2 separate regions of the Homo sapiens genome follow, and region 1 is linked to region 2. Evidence: promoter capture Hi-C in 16 types of primary human blood cells and fetal thymus (Javierre and others, 2016). All regions are on one chromosome and are shown on one strand. Each heading gives the region's core, a stretch centred on a gene start or on the middle of the fragment in contact. The rest is flanking DNA. Distances are from core to core; before and after follow the strand shown.

Region 1 (6,662 bases), core at 4,163-6,662, 98 kb before region 2:
AGAGATAAAACACGCGTCACAAACTAGGATGGAAATCCTGAAACGAATCCCCCAGGGGAATCCAGGCGGGGTAAACGTCAGGGAAATGACTTGTGGTGTTGTTGGGAGATGTCACGTGCAGCCCACAAGGTGAGGCCTGCTGGGGTCCAGTGTGTTCGGAAGGGTGGAGGATTTGCTGTGTGGTTCAGCTGGGAGGATAAGAATGTTTAGGCGGCACCTTGAAAGTCAGCTGAATACTCCTCCTGCCTGGTTTCTCAGGGTTCCTCTGATAAGGGAAGGAAAGGATTTTTTACATTTTTCTCTGCAAGCTCCGTCGTTTGTGTCTATTTCTGCAAGACTTTGTTACAAATAAAAGACTCTTCTTGCATGCATGGCAAATCACTCAACTATCCAAGATACACTGTGTCTTTAACTGAAAAGAAAGCAAGTTGCAATACAATATGCTTGGTGTGCTTTTTTTTTTTTTAAATGTCAGTATCTGAGCAAAAGAACAACCTTGAGAAAAAGACATCAAACTGTTAGGAGTATTATCCCAGCAGGGTGGGATTGCACTGGACCTTGACTTCCATTCAGTTGTTCAACAACTGTTCATTGAGGGCCCCTGTGTGCCAGCCACTGTGCAGAACATGAAGACGCAGTGGCAAACACTTCCCACATTATGAATTTCTGTAACATTTGGGTTTTTATAACCAACATTTATAACTTTTGTAAACAGAAGTATAAGAAAGACTTGTTCCTTCCCCCAAAGAGCAAAATCCCCATTATGATTACAGTTAGTCATCTAATCTAGAAATAGAAATGTGATCAAATACTGGCCTCCCCTTCAGCATCCTCAGCTACCTCTCCCCTTAGTCCTCCTCAGATCCCAACCATGATTTCATCCTTCCCCTTTGATTCCTGGGTCACACGTTGCAGCCGAGCAAAATCCCAGACTCATCCCAACAGAGCCTCCACAAATCCCTGTATTCACCAGGTCCAGTGGGCCAAGCCAATGTCAGCCCGGCCATCTCACCTCCTCCGCCATCTTGGTATCCTTGCAATGCACCTCTCCAACGCACCAACCCAACCCTGTACTCTCAAGCCTCCAAACCCTTTGAAAAGAGATTGACAGATCTAGGTCTGAATTCTGATTCTAACACTTACCAGCTCTGTAGCTTAACCTTGGGGAGCTTCTGTCGTTTCACCTATAAATATGAACATACTTCCTTACCAGGTTGTTTATAATGATTAGAAAAACGTATCAAACTCTTGGCATAGCACTGGCACGCACCAGGTCTGCTATTATTATAATATTGCTGTTCTCACGCTTCTGTGCTGGAAATCCTCCGAATGGTGCATTGCCCCACACAAGAACATGTTCTCCTCACTTCCTTTTTCTCTCTTGGCCCACCTTTTATTCCTTCCCTCCATTATCCCCACTAGGTCTTCCTCCTACATGCAGCACGTACCCTGCCCTGTCTCCCCTTTCCTCTCCTTCCCAGGGACCTTGTGCACAAATTCTTCTTTCTTTGGCGTCAGCGGCCTTTCTTTTCCTCTTAGTTCCTTCCCTTTGCCATCAAAGGGGCACTTCAAGATGGCTGTACCATCCTGAAAAAAATCATTCTTCTCTGGAATCCATCGCTTCTTTCGCTCCTTTTCAATTGCTCTTACTCCTGTCTTCACCTGTGATCTTTAAGAAGCGTGTTGCACCCTCGGTCTTCATTGCCAGCTTCTTGGCCTTTCTGCCAAGTAACTGACACGGGCCCCCTGCAGCACTGACTAGGCCACCACCCTCTCGGGGACTGTGTCTCTGACCTGCCCAACGCTCTTCATTCTCTTTTTTGAAACCCTTTAGGCGCTCTGCTTCCCTCCTGATCTTTTCCATTCATTCCCAGCAGCCCCCTTCACCAACTCCTATCCCTAACGAGGGTGTTTTCTCCTGTGCAGTCAGCCCTTGGTCCACCCCATCTCCTTTCTCATGAAGAAACTCTGCACTTCCGGGCTTCCCCAGCCACTCCTATGTGTTTTCCACACGGACGCCTCTGCAGGAGGGGCTGCCAGGAAAGTGGTGCAGGGAGTCCAGCCAAGGCAGTAGGTGGGGTCCCTGGCCAGGGGCCATGGCCACCAGGAGGAAGGGGGCCTCTTTCTTCATTCACACAAGGACCCTGGATGGGCTGGGCTGGGCCGGCATTACCGATTGGCATGTCCGGCTCTCTGCTGACCCTCCCTCCCCAGAGTCCTGCCAGTGCCTCAAATTCAGCATGTCTGAAACAGCCTGGGGGCTCCTTCTCTCTCCCTGCCACACCCCACCGCAACCCCAACCTGTCTCTCTCCCGTCTGATGACGAGGCCACCATTCTACCCCTTTAAAAGGCTTTCCCTTTCTTCCCTCTCATCCTCACTTCTCCCACCCTCAGTTAGAGGATCAGCACTGAATACCTGGGCGTCTCTCGGGCCCTTAGCGGAGCTCCCTGCCTCTCACTCAGAGGAGGGGAGCTTATCACAGGCAACATCCAGGATCGTCTGGCGACATTTTTGGTTGTCAAAACTGGGGTGGGGTGAGTAGGGGTGCCCCTGGCATCCAGTGGGTAGAGACCAGGAATGCTACTAACCATCCCACAATGCCTAAGACAGCCCCAACAGCAAAGACTTGACAATATCAGCAGTGCAATACCAGCAATACGGCCCGACATAGCAGCAGTGCTCCAGCAAAGAAACCCTGCCAGCTCCAGCCTCTCGAATGCAGCCCAGCTATTTTTCTTTAAAAAAAAAAACAACGCTCTTCATCAGGCCACTTCACTGTTCTGTCAGCCGCTGGAATAGGAGTGACTCAGACCTCGAGTCACACCAATTAGTCTTGGCTCAACCACTGGCCTGCTGTGTGGCGTTGGGCAGGCCTGCGTCTCAGAACGCCACTGCCTCATCTATAAATTGGGGACCCACTGGGCACATTTCAGTCATGTTTAAATCAAGTTTCCTCTCTCAAGCCGACGGTTTCAGGAGTGTCACGGCTTGACCTCACCCTTCCATGCCTCCTCCACTGTCTGCTCCTCCCTCTCCCATCATCTACTCCAGCCCAAGTAAGCTCAGCACTTCCCGGGAGGAGCACTGCCTTTTCCAAATCCCACCCCCACCACCCCCACATCCCGGTGTGAAACTGTGGCTTCCTGTGACTATTGTAACAAATGACCACAAGAGACTGGCTTAAAACAACACATTATTCTCTTAGCATTCAGGATTAATTCAGTTTCACTGGGCTAAAGTTCCTTCCGGAGGCTCTAGAGCAGTATCCGTTTCCTGGCCTTCTTCAGCCTCTAGAGCTTCATTCCTTGCATTCCTTGGCTCATGGCCCCTTCCTCCATCTTCAAAGCCAGCGATGTGGCATCTTCCAGTCTCTGCTTCCATCACATCACCTTCCCCTCTGTCTGTGGTCAAGCCTCCGTCTGTCTCCTTATAAGAAGCCATGTGATGACATTGGGTCCACCCAGATAATCCAGGATAACACCCCATCTCGAAATCCTTAACTTAATCGTATTTGCCAAGCTCTTTTTGCCCTGTACGGTCACACCCACAGGTTCCAGGGATTCGGACCTGGAATCGTAGGGGGTCATCATTCAGCCCCGCGCACCCCTGTTCTGAAGCGCCCTCCCCCGGCTCTCTGAATTCTGCCCACCCAACAGCATCCACACCCAGTAGTTCTTCAACCAAGTGGTCTTACTCGCTCACTCCAGGTGAATGATCTCCCCCTCCTCTGACACCCTCACCCTCCCCTCTCCTTCAGCAGTCACTCACATGCCACCTGGGGTCACTGCATGTTTCCAGCAGGCATTTACACCTTGTCTTTCGGACTGAACTGTAAGCCCCTGGAGGTCTTGGCTTTAGACCATCCCCCACACTCAGCACCATGCTTCACACACAGTAGACAGTAAATAGGTGTTCTGTTGATGGGTTGTTTTCCACCTCCAAAAAGAAAGTTGGATGTGAGCTCAACCAAGGCTTATCAACTACTTTATTTTTATTTTTATTTTTTTGAGACTGAGTCTCGCTCTGTCACCTGAGCGGGAATGCAGTGGCACAATCTGGGCTCACTGCAACCTCTGCCTTCCAGTTTCAAGCGATTCTCATGCCTCAGCCTCCCAAGTAGCTGGAATTACAAACATGCGCCACCACACCCAGCTAGTTTTTGTATTTTTAGTGGAGATGGGGTTTTATCACGCTGGCCAGCCAGGCTAGTCTCGAGCTCCTGACCTCAGGTGATCTGCCCATCTCAGCCTCCCAAAGTGCTGGGGTTACAGGTGTGAACCTCCATGCCCAGCCTAAGCCACCGTGCCCGGCTGCTTATCAACTACTTTAAAACCACAGGTTGGATGGCAGCTCACGTTGTTTTGATGGGATGGCAACGTTGCTTTCATCCACCTGTCTGCAAGCTTTGGAGTTGAATTGATACTTACATTCTTCCTGCTTCTCTTTTTTTAAGGGTTCTCTTTGTATCTGATATATCTTCTGGAACATTATAAAAAACTTATGAGCCAGGCCCAGGAACTTCAGGTAATTCTTTTAATTTCTTTTTTTCCAAAGTTCATTTCGGCCCCTGGTTGGCATTTATATAGCACTGTGCATTTGAAACCTGTTTTTTCTTTATCAGCTAGTCCAGTCCACACCCTCCAATAGGTGAAATGATTTCTTCATTTGCACACAAAGAGGTACAGAAAAGGTTGGCTAAGATCTCCCAGGAGGGTAAGGACAATGACAGGGTGCTGCCCTCTGGCCTCCTGGGCCAACCACACTGTTTGTTTTCCTCTGTCAAAGGCCCAGAAGACTTAATGCCATCAGATTTTTTTTTTTTGAGTCTCGCTCTGTTGCCCAGACTGGAGTACAGTGGTGCAATCTCGGCTCATTGCAACCTCTGCCTCCCGGGTTCAAGTGATTCTCCTGCTTCAGCTTTCTGAGTAGCTGGGATTACAGGCGCCTGCCACCATGTGTTGCTAATTTTTGTATTTTTAGTAGAGACAGGGTTTCATTATGTTGGCCAGGCTGGTCTTGAACTCCTGACCTCAAGTGATCCACCCACCTCAGCTTCCCAAAGTGCTGGGATTACAGGCGTGAGCCACTGCACCAGCCTTAATGCCATCAGATTTTGAAAACTGTGTTTACTAAATCCAGTGGACAAAGTACAGCTATCTATAGCACAGGCAGCAGAATTACTAAAAGAAAAGAAATATTCTAGAGGCAAATGAGCTTTACGGGTTATATCATTCTGATAGCTATTGCCATAATAGTATTATATAATAAACAACCACAAAACTTCAGCGGCATTCAGCAATTGCTATTTACTCCTCACGTGTCTGGGGTCAGTGGCAAGGCGGCTCTGCTGACCTTGGATGGGCCCACCCACTTGTCTGGGTGTTAGCTGGCCTTTGGTTGATCTAGACTGGCCTCAGCTGGAGTGACTCAGCTCCCTGTGTCTCTCATCCCCCAGCAAGCAAGCCTAGGCTGTTCTCATGGAGACTACGAGGTATAAAAGAAAGTGGCCCAATCACATAGTGTTTTTCAACCTTCTGCTTGTGTTATGTCTGCTAAGATCCCATTGGCCAGAACAAGTCACATGGCTGAGTTCAGTGTCTGGAGGCAAAATATGGGCGGGCACTGCAAGTTACATAGCCCTAGACATGGATAGAGTGGGGTAAAGAAGGGACCACCATGCCAATCAGCCACAGAGGCTTGAGTCCAGGGATTGGCAACTTTCTCTGTAAAGGGCCAGATGGTAAATATTTTATGCTTTGCAGACCATATTCATACCTCTTCCACTCTGCTATGGTAAAATGAAAGTAGCCATAGACAATATGTAAGCAATGGACATGATAAGCATGGCACTGTTCCAATAAAACTTTATTTACGGCGGGCACGGTGGCTCATGCCTGTAATCCCAGCGCTTTGGGAGGCTGAGGCGGGTGGATCACCTGAGGTCAGGAGTTCGAGACCAGCCTGGCCAACATGGTAAAACCCCATCTCTACTAAAAATACCAAAATTAGCCAGGTGTGGTGGTGGGCACCTGTAATCTCAGCCACTCAGGAGGCTGAGGCAGGAGAATCACTTGAACCCGGGAGGCAGAGGTTGCGGGGAACCAAGATTGTGCCCCTGCACTGCAGCCTGGGCGACAGAGCAAGACACCATCTCAAAAAAAACAAAACAAAACAAAAACACCACCTTATTTACAAAAGTATGCAGTGGGCCCGATTTGGCCTGTGGGCTGTAGTTTGTCAACCCCTGGTCTAGTCCCTTCTCCTTATTTTTCAGATAAGGACAATTTCAGTGTCACACAGCTAATGGGTGAAGAATCAAGACAAATGTTCAAGCGTCCTGGCTCCTACATGACTGCTTTTTTTCCTCACACCCACCTACCACTTACTGAACACCTACTATGTGCTCAGCACTGTGCTAAAAGCTTTCCATCATTATCTCACTTAATCCTCACAACTCTAAAAGATCAATACTGTTATTAACTTCATTTTCTAAATGAGGAAGCATCTAGAAACAACTAGAGCTGGGATTCTTTCTAGATCCAGAGTCTGAATTCTTAACCACAGCATGCTGTAGTGTTCTGTGATTTTAAGAAACTTTTGGGTAAACCTTTGTACCCAGAAAGGTAAACAATTGGTAAACAAATGGGGAAAGACTCTTTA
Region 2 (7,250 bases), core at 2,318-4,817:
CACTCTCACTTTATAAACGAGGAAGCACAGAGAGGTTGCGTCACAAGCATAAGGCCATAGAGCTATGAAGCAATAGTGGTGGGTTTAGTTCAACCCTAAGCAAAGCACTCAACATCCTGTCTTCAGCATCTGAAACAGATTAAGGGCGACCTCGGTTTTCTCCAGGGACAATTGTTTGGTGCTGCCTTACATAAAAGGTCCCTCCCTGTAGATGTCTCAAAACAAGCAAGTTTCCCTATAGCTGAGCAGCCAGCAACCTCCCTCCAAAAAGGTCAGTTTCTCTGTGAACCTTCAAAGAGCTGACAATAACTCTCTTCACCTGGGACCTCATCATCAATCCATTTGGCTATTTCTATGTTTGTGTACATGTTTGAATGGGTGGCCCATGGCTCTGCTTGGCTCTACACATAACCGAATGCTTTATATGTATTATATCATTGGTGTGTGCATATTTGTGGACGTGGAGGAGCGTGTGTGTGCATGTGTGTGTGTGCGTGTGTGCATGTGTGCATATGTGTGTGTATGTTTGTGTGTGCATGTGTGCGCGTGGGTGTGTGCATTGTGTGCATGTGTGTGTGCGTGTGTGTCCATGTGTTTGTGTGCGTGTGTGCATGTGTGCATGTGTGTGCATGTGTGTGTGCATGTGTGTGTGCGTGTGTGTGTATGTGCGTGTGTGCGTCGCCTGTCCACGTATACTTGTGAATCCATGGGCATGTATACACAGCTGAGATGCGTGCTAACAAGTTGCTGTATCTCTGAGTATAAATTGATGAGCTCCTACAAGGAGACGCCCAGTTAATTCATTTTCCCAAGTTGATCAAGGGACATGAGAGAAACTGAGGCTCAAAGAGGTTGCTCAGGGTCTGGGTCATCCATTCTGTCACTGAGATGGAAACCAGGTGTCCTGTCTCCCCGCTTCAGACCCTGCTAATTTCCAAGACCTATCACCTAGCTCAAGCCATATCTCTGCTTATGTTCCCAGTTTCCAGGCTAGAATGACCCTTTGCAAGGCTTGGCAACCAAAAGCCCTGGGTCTGAAGCAGACTGGCCAGTAGCCACTGATAAACCTGTATCATGCACAACCAACCTCCAAAATGAAACAGAAAATTCCCCGCAGGCTGAAGTCCCCAGACACCCCAGGACTGAGGCCTTGATGTCACCATAGCTGAGCAGAGCCCCCAGTGCACATTCCCACTTTTATCTTTCTTAAAAAATTAAACCTATTGATTTTTATACTACCAAGGTAACTATGTTTGTTTTAAAAAAGAATTTAAGCTGCATAAAAATGTGTAGTTAGAGGCCAGGCATGGTGGCTCACACCTGTAATCCTAGCACTTTGGGAGGCCTATGTGAGTGGATCACTTGAGGTCAGGAGTTCGAGACCAGCCTGGCCAACGTGGTGAAACCCCGTCTCTACAAAAGGAACAAAAATTAGCCAGTGGCACTGGTCCCGGCTACTCAGGAGACTAAGTAAGGTAGGAGAATTGCTTGAACCTGGGAGGCAGAGGTTGCAGTGAGCCAAGATCGCACCACTGCACTCCAGCCTGGGCGACAGAGCGAGACTCCAACTCCATCTCAAAAAATAAATAAATAAATAAACAAACCAGCCTGGCCAACATGGTGAAATCCGGTCTCCACTAAAAATACAAAAATTAGCCGGGCATGGTGGTGGACATCTATAATCCCAGCTACTCGCGAGGCTGAGGAAGCAGAATTGCTTGAACCCAGGGGTGGAGGTTGCAGTGAGCTGAGATCGCACCACTGCACTCCAGCCTGGGCCACAGAGCAAGACTCTCAAAAAAAAAAAGTGTAAGTTAGAATCCTCCTTCACCCCCAGATCACCGCTATGAATGGCGGGGTGCGTAGTGCTCTGAACTTTTCTATCAGGAAGGAATTCCTAAGGTGGCCAGTAGGCCCAGCTCAGAAAATGACCTTCAAGGGGAGCTCAGTATGAGTAGAGGGGAAACGAAAGACAGAATCTAACCAACCAGGCTGAGGCCAGGCCTTGGGGCGAATGGATCAAACCACATGTTCCAAGGGATGGCCAACCCCGAATGCCGGAGGCTCTGGTAGAATTTCTGCTACTCAGTGCTTTGGGCCCTCAGATCTGCCACTGACCTTGACATTCAAGTTACAGAATTGTAGAACTGAAAGGAGCCTGAAAGTCCATCTGGTCCTTTTGCCCATTTTAGAGATGGGGAAACTGAGGACCTACAACTAAGCTGACTCCAGGAAGGAATCTGGCCAACTAAGCACCTTCCAGAGCCTGCTGCATCCCTGCCTCCAACCACAGCCCTGGAGGCAGGTGCAGGAGTGCATCAAGCCCAGGCAATTAGAAAGATGAGACAGAGAGAGAGCCAGGAAGCGATCCAATAGCACTAGAAAGGCAGAGAAGGAGCAGCATGTCTCCACAGCTTGAAGCCCCAGGCTGGTGTTAGAAGCTTTGGCTTCAAAGTCTGGCTCTGCTGCTGCCCAGCCGTGTGACCCTAGATGGTCACTTACCCGCTGAGTCTCAGCTTCCTCACTTTTATTTTATTTTTTTAGAGACAAGGTCTTGTTCTGTCACCCGCGCTGGAATGCAGTGTGGCACGATCACGGCTCACTGCAGCCTCGAACTCCTGGGCTCAAGCGATCCTCCTACCTTGGCCTCAGGAGTAGCTGGGACTACAGGCATGCACCACTGCGCCTGGTCCTTTCTCATCTCACCTCAGAGCAGATAACCGCGTCTATTTCATGTTGTTGGAAGAATTAAGTGAGATAATGCAAGAAGAATTGAGCGCAATGCCTGACACACAGTAGGTGCCCAATAAATAACTAAAAAGAATAAGGTAACGGCCTGTAATCACACCTGTAATCCTAGCACTTTGGGAGGCTGAGGTAGGCAGATTGCCTAAGCTCAGGAGTTCAAGACCACCCTAGGCAACAGGGTGAAACCCTGTCTCTACTAAAATACAAAAAAAAAAAAAAAAAAAAAATGGTGGCACACATCTGTAGTCCCAGCTACTTGGGAGGCTGAGACAGGAGAATCGCTTGAACTCGGGAGGCGGAGGTTGTAGTGAGCTGAGACTCCAGCCTGGGTGACAGAGCAAGATCCTGTCTCAAAAAAATAAATAAAATACAAAAGATTAACCTGGCGTGGTGGCAGGCGCCTGTAGTCCCAGCTACACAGGGGGCTAAGGCACGAGAATCGTTTGAGCCCGGGAGGTGGAGGTTGCAGTGAGCTGAGACTGTGCCACTGCATTTCAGCCTGGGCAACAGAGCAAGACTCCATCTCCAAATAAATAAATAAATAGTATAAGGTAGGGAGAGAGAATGAACACACACGTCAAACAGAGTGGGGTGGGGGATGCCAAAAAGCACTGCAACTCAGAATTTTCTGTTTCAGGATATTTGGAAAATCCATACTTCTAAGAAAGCCCTGTCTCCTGCCCAAATTAAACAGTAACCACCCAAGGTCAGGGAAAGGGCCTTATCAGAGCAGGTTTCTCTCCAAGGGGCGGTTTGGCCTTGACCAGGTGCACTCACCTGCTCCTGCCTATAAGTGTGCCCCAGCCCATCCCGATGGTCAGCCAGTCCTGAGCACCTAACCATGTTGGGCATCACTGTCCTCGCTGCGCTCTTGGCCTGTGGTAAGCGGTGGGGTGGGGCTGCAGCTAGCAGGCTGTGAGCTCGGGCTGGCCTCCAGGGCAAGGACGGGATGGGGAGTGGGGGGGCCTCTGCTCTCCAGGTAAGACACTTTGGGGTCCCCTGTGGGTTCAGATGCTACCAACCAGCTGTGTGTCAGACAAGCCACAGCCTGCCTGCCAACTCTGTTTCCACATCTGCAAAACAGGGAAGATGATCTGACGTGTCCCCAGTTAGAAATGAGGTGTGGAAAGCACCACGCAAGGGGGAGGGACACGAGATGCCTCATCCTGGGTTCACCCCAGGGACCATCGGGGTCTGCCTTTCCCAGCATTCTCTCTCCCTTGAGGATTCTCCATTCCATCATTTTGGTGGCGTTTTCCCAGATTAGGAGCCCAGGGACTTAGCTTAAATGCCACTTCTTCTCTGCAGGACCTGGAAAAGTCATTTCACCTCTCTAAATCTCACTAACTTTTTTGGCAAAGGAGAGCACTTAATGAAGAGTCCTTCCAGCTAACAACAACAACAGTAATAATAGCAGCTCCTGTTTCCTGTGTGTTTACTATGTGCCAGACGCTATGCTAGGCCCCTTACATGTAGGAGCCAATTTAATCCTCAAAACAACCTTAAGAGGTAGGGTCTATTGCCAGGCATGGTGGCTCACGCCTGTAATCCCAGCACTTTGGGAGGCCGAGGTGGGTGGATCACTTGAGATCAGGAGTTTGAGACCAGTCTGGCCAACAAGATGAAACCCCGTTTCTACTAAAAATACAAAAATTAGCCAGGCGTGGTGGCGGGCACCTGTAATCCCAACTACTCAGAAGGCTGAGGCAGGAGAATTGCTTGAACCCAGGAGGAGGTTGCAGTGAGCCGAGATCGCGCCATCAAACTCCAGCCTGGGCAACAAGAGTGAAACTCCGTCTCAAAAAAAAAAAAAAAAGAAAAAGAAAGAAAAAGAGGTAGGGTCTTTTCATAGCCCCATTTTACAGATGAGGACATCGAGGTTCCGTGCGACTTAGTATCTTGCCTGACATCACATGGCAGGTTAGTGGAAGAGGCAGAATTTGAGTCCACGTCTGTCTCGCGGAACAGCACGTGTTCTTGACCGCTCCACACAGCTTCCCAGCTATAACAGTGGATTTACTGCTCTCTCACACACACACCATGATGCAGGGGCCTAAAAACAGACAGAAGAACACAGGTGTACCGGGCACTCGCACACATGCCAGCCAGTTTTGTTTTGTTTTGTTTTGTTTTTTGAGATGGAGTTTTGCTCTTATCACCCAGGATGGAGTGCAATGGCACGATCTCGGCTCACTGCAACCTCCATCTCCCAGGCTCAAGCGATTCTCCTGCCTCAGCCTCCTGAGTGGCTGGGATTACAGGCATGCACCACCACGCCTGGCTAATTTCTGTATTTTTAGTAGAGACAGGGTTTCGCCATGTTGGCCAGGCTGGTGTCAAACCCCTGATCTCAAGCGATCCACCCGCCTTGGCCACCCAAAGTGCTGGGATTACAGGTGTGAGCCACCGTGCCCGGCCAAACGCTTTCTTTTTTATGTGTTGTCTAATTCAGTTCTCAGGGCAAACTCACCGCATTAGTGTGATTCTTCACATTTCACAGAAAGGGAAAACAAGGCCTAGAGACCTGGGTGGCTTACCCCCGTGACACAGTAAAATATCAACCCCGTGTCTGCCCAGCCCCAACTCTGTGCTTCTTCCACCTGCCCACCCTCCCACCCCTTTCCCCGTGGGCTACCAGCCCTATTCACTGGTTCTTCTGGCCTCCTGTCTCCCCAGCCTCCAGCTGTGGGGTGCCCAGCTTCCCGCCCAACCTATCCGCCCGAGTGGTGGGAGGAGAGGATGCCCGGCCCCACAGCTGGCCCTGGCAGGTAAGCCTGTGTAGGGCTGGGAGGTACAGATAGAGAGGGTGGCGGGGTGAGGGTCCCAGGGACCTGCAGGCTGACACACAGCCCTCCCCACCCTCCTGCAGATCTCCCTCCAGTACCTCAAGAACGACACGTGGAGGCATACGTGTGGCGGGACTTTGATTGCTAGCAACTTCGTCCTCACTGCCGCCCACTGCATCAGGTGTGCGGGGATGATACCCTGAGACCTGGCCATCGTCCGGGGGCGGAAGCCTGATACTCTGCTTTTTCTGAGCAGCTTCTCCGCACTCCAGGCACTGGGCTACATAATCTACTCACACCCAGTAACTCAGTTGTGCATTTAGTCAGTCAAGTATTCATTGTGCATCTATTATGTGCCAGGAACCAGCAGTGAAGACAAAGTCTGTGCTCTCGGGAAGCTTATATTTTTGTGGAAGACAGAGCGGCAGACAATTAAACAAATATATAGCATCTCAGGTGATTTAAAATAATACTAATAATAAGGTATTGGCCAGGAGCAGTGGCTCACGCCTGTAATCATAGCACTCTGGGAGGCCGACGCAGGCGGATCACCTGAGGTCAGGAGTTCGAGACCAGCCTGGTCAACATAGTGAAACCCCGTCTCTACCGAAAATACAAAAATTAGCCAGGCGTGGTGGCGGGCACCTGTAATCCCAGCTACTCGGGAGGCTGAGGTAGGAGAATCACTTGAACACGGGAGGCAGAGGTTGCAATGAGCCGAGATGGCGCCACTGCACTCTAGCCTGGGCAACAGAGTGAGACTCTGTCTCAAAAAAATAAAAAATAAAAATAAGGTCAGAAGAGGACAAACAGAATGAGGGGTTCAGTTTTAAAAGGGATGGCCAGGGGAAGAGCTGAAAGGGGGATATTTGGCAAATATTTGGGACATTTCGGAGAGCTAAAAGGGGGTTATTTGGGCAAAGGCCTGAAGGAAGTGAGGGAGGAAATCATGGATCTAGGAGAAGGGTGTTCCAGGCGGAGGGAACAGCCATGCAAAGCCTTGGAGGAGAGACCTGTCAGTATGGTTGAGAAATAACGCGGAAGCCGGTGTGGCAGGGGCAGCGTGTGCTAGAGGAGAGTGGGAGGTGAGCTAGAGAGGAAATAAGTGCAGGTCAGTATCAGGACCTTGGCTTTGACCCTGAGTAAGATGGAGCTATTGGAAGGGTTTCTGAGCAAAGGAGAGTTGTGGGCTGACATATTTTTATATATTCCATAAAATATTTTTAATATATTTTATAAAAAATATATATTGCAACATATTTCATTTTATATATTTCATATACACTTTTTTTTTTTTTGGTAGAGACAGAGTCTCATTTAGTGGTACCATCATGGTTCACTGTAGCCTTGACCTCCTGAGCTCAAGCAATCCTCCCACCTTAGCCTCCCGAGTAGCTGGGTCTATAAGCACACGCCACCACGCATTCCCAGCTAATTTTTCTTCTTGTTTTTTGTTTGTTTGTTTGTTTTTTAACTTAGAAGCCCAAACCTCACCATAAGTTTTCTATTTTTTGTAGAGATGGGGATTTGCCATGTGGCTCAGGCTGGTCTCAAACTCCTGGCCTCAAGCAATCCCCCCGTCTCGGCTTCCCAACGTGCTGGGATTACAGGCATGAGCCAACGCACCTGGCCGGAGATATTTTTAAACCCACACTGCTGGGTTCAGAATAGACAGGAGTAGGCCAGCGTACAAGTGAGAGATAGTTAGATGGATGC

What was found. Contacts are between HindIII fragments. The CHiCAGO score rates a contact against its expected background, and 5 or more counts as called.
Region 1: a fragment that was not itself captured here is called in contact with the fragment with the promoter of CTRC in region 2 in 3 of 17 cell types (neutrophils, monocytes and total B cells); the score reaches 6.0 in neutrophils.

The regions. Positions count from the first base shown.
Region 1 is chr1:15,335,026-15,341,687 of GRCh38, forward strand. FHAD1 (forkhead associated phosphopeptide binding domain 1) reads left to right here. Exons shown (of 34, transcript NM_001391957.1): 15 at 4,456-4,526. The region is part of intron 1 of FHAD1-AS1 (FHAD1 antisense RNA 1); the gene reads right to left. It overlaps LOC124903851 (a long non-coding RNA gene), which reads right to left and starts at 5,901. Exons shown (of 3, transcript XR_007065480.1): 1 at 5,355-5,901; 2 at 3,771-3,938; 3 at 1-3,428. The HindIII fragment of the contact is 2,019 bases long and covers 4,404-6,422 here.
Region 2 is chr1:15,434,876-15,442,125 of GRCh38, forward strand. CTRC (chymotrypsin C) reads left to right here and starts at 3,568. Exons shown (of 8, transcript NM_007272.3): 1 at 3,568-3,629; 2 at 5,425-5,516; 3 at 5,618-5,715. The coding sequence starts at 3,590. The HindIII fragment of the contact is 3,491 bases long and covers 2,440-5,930 here.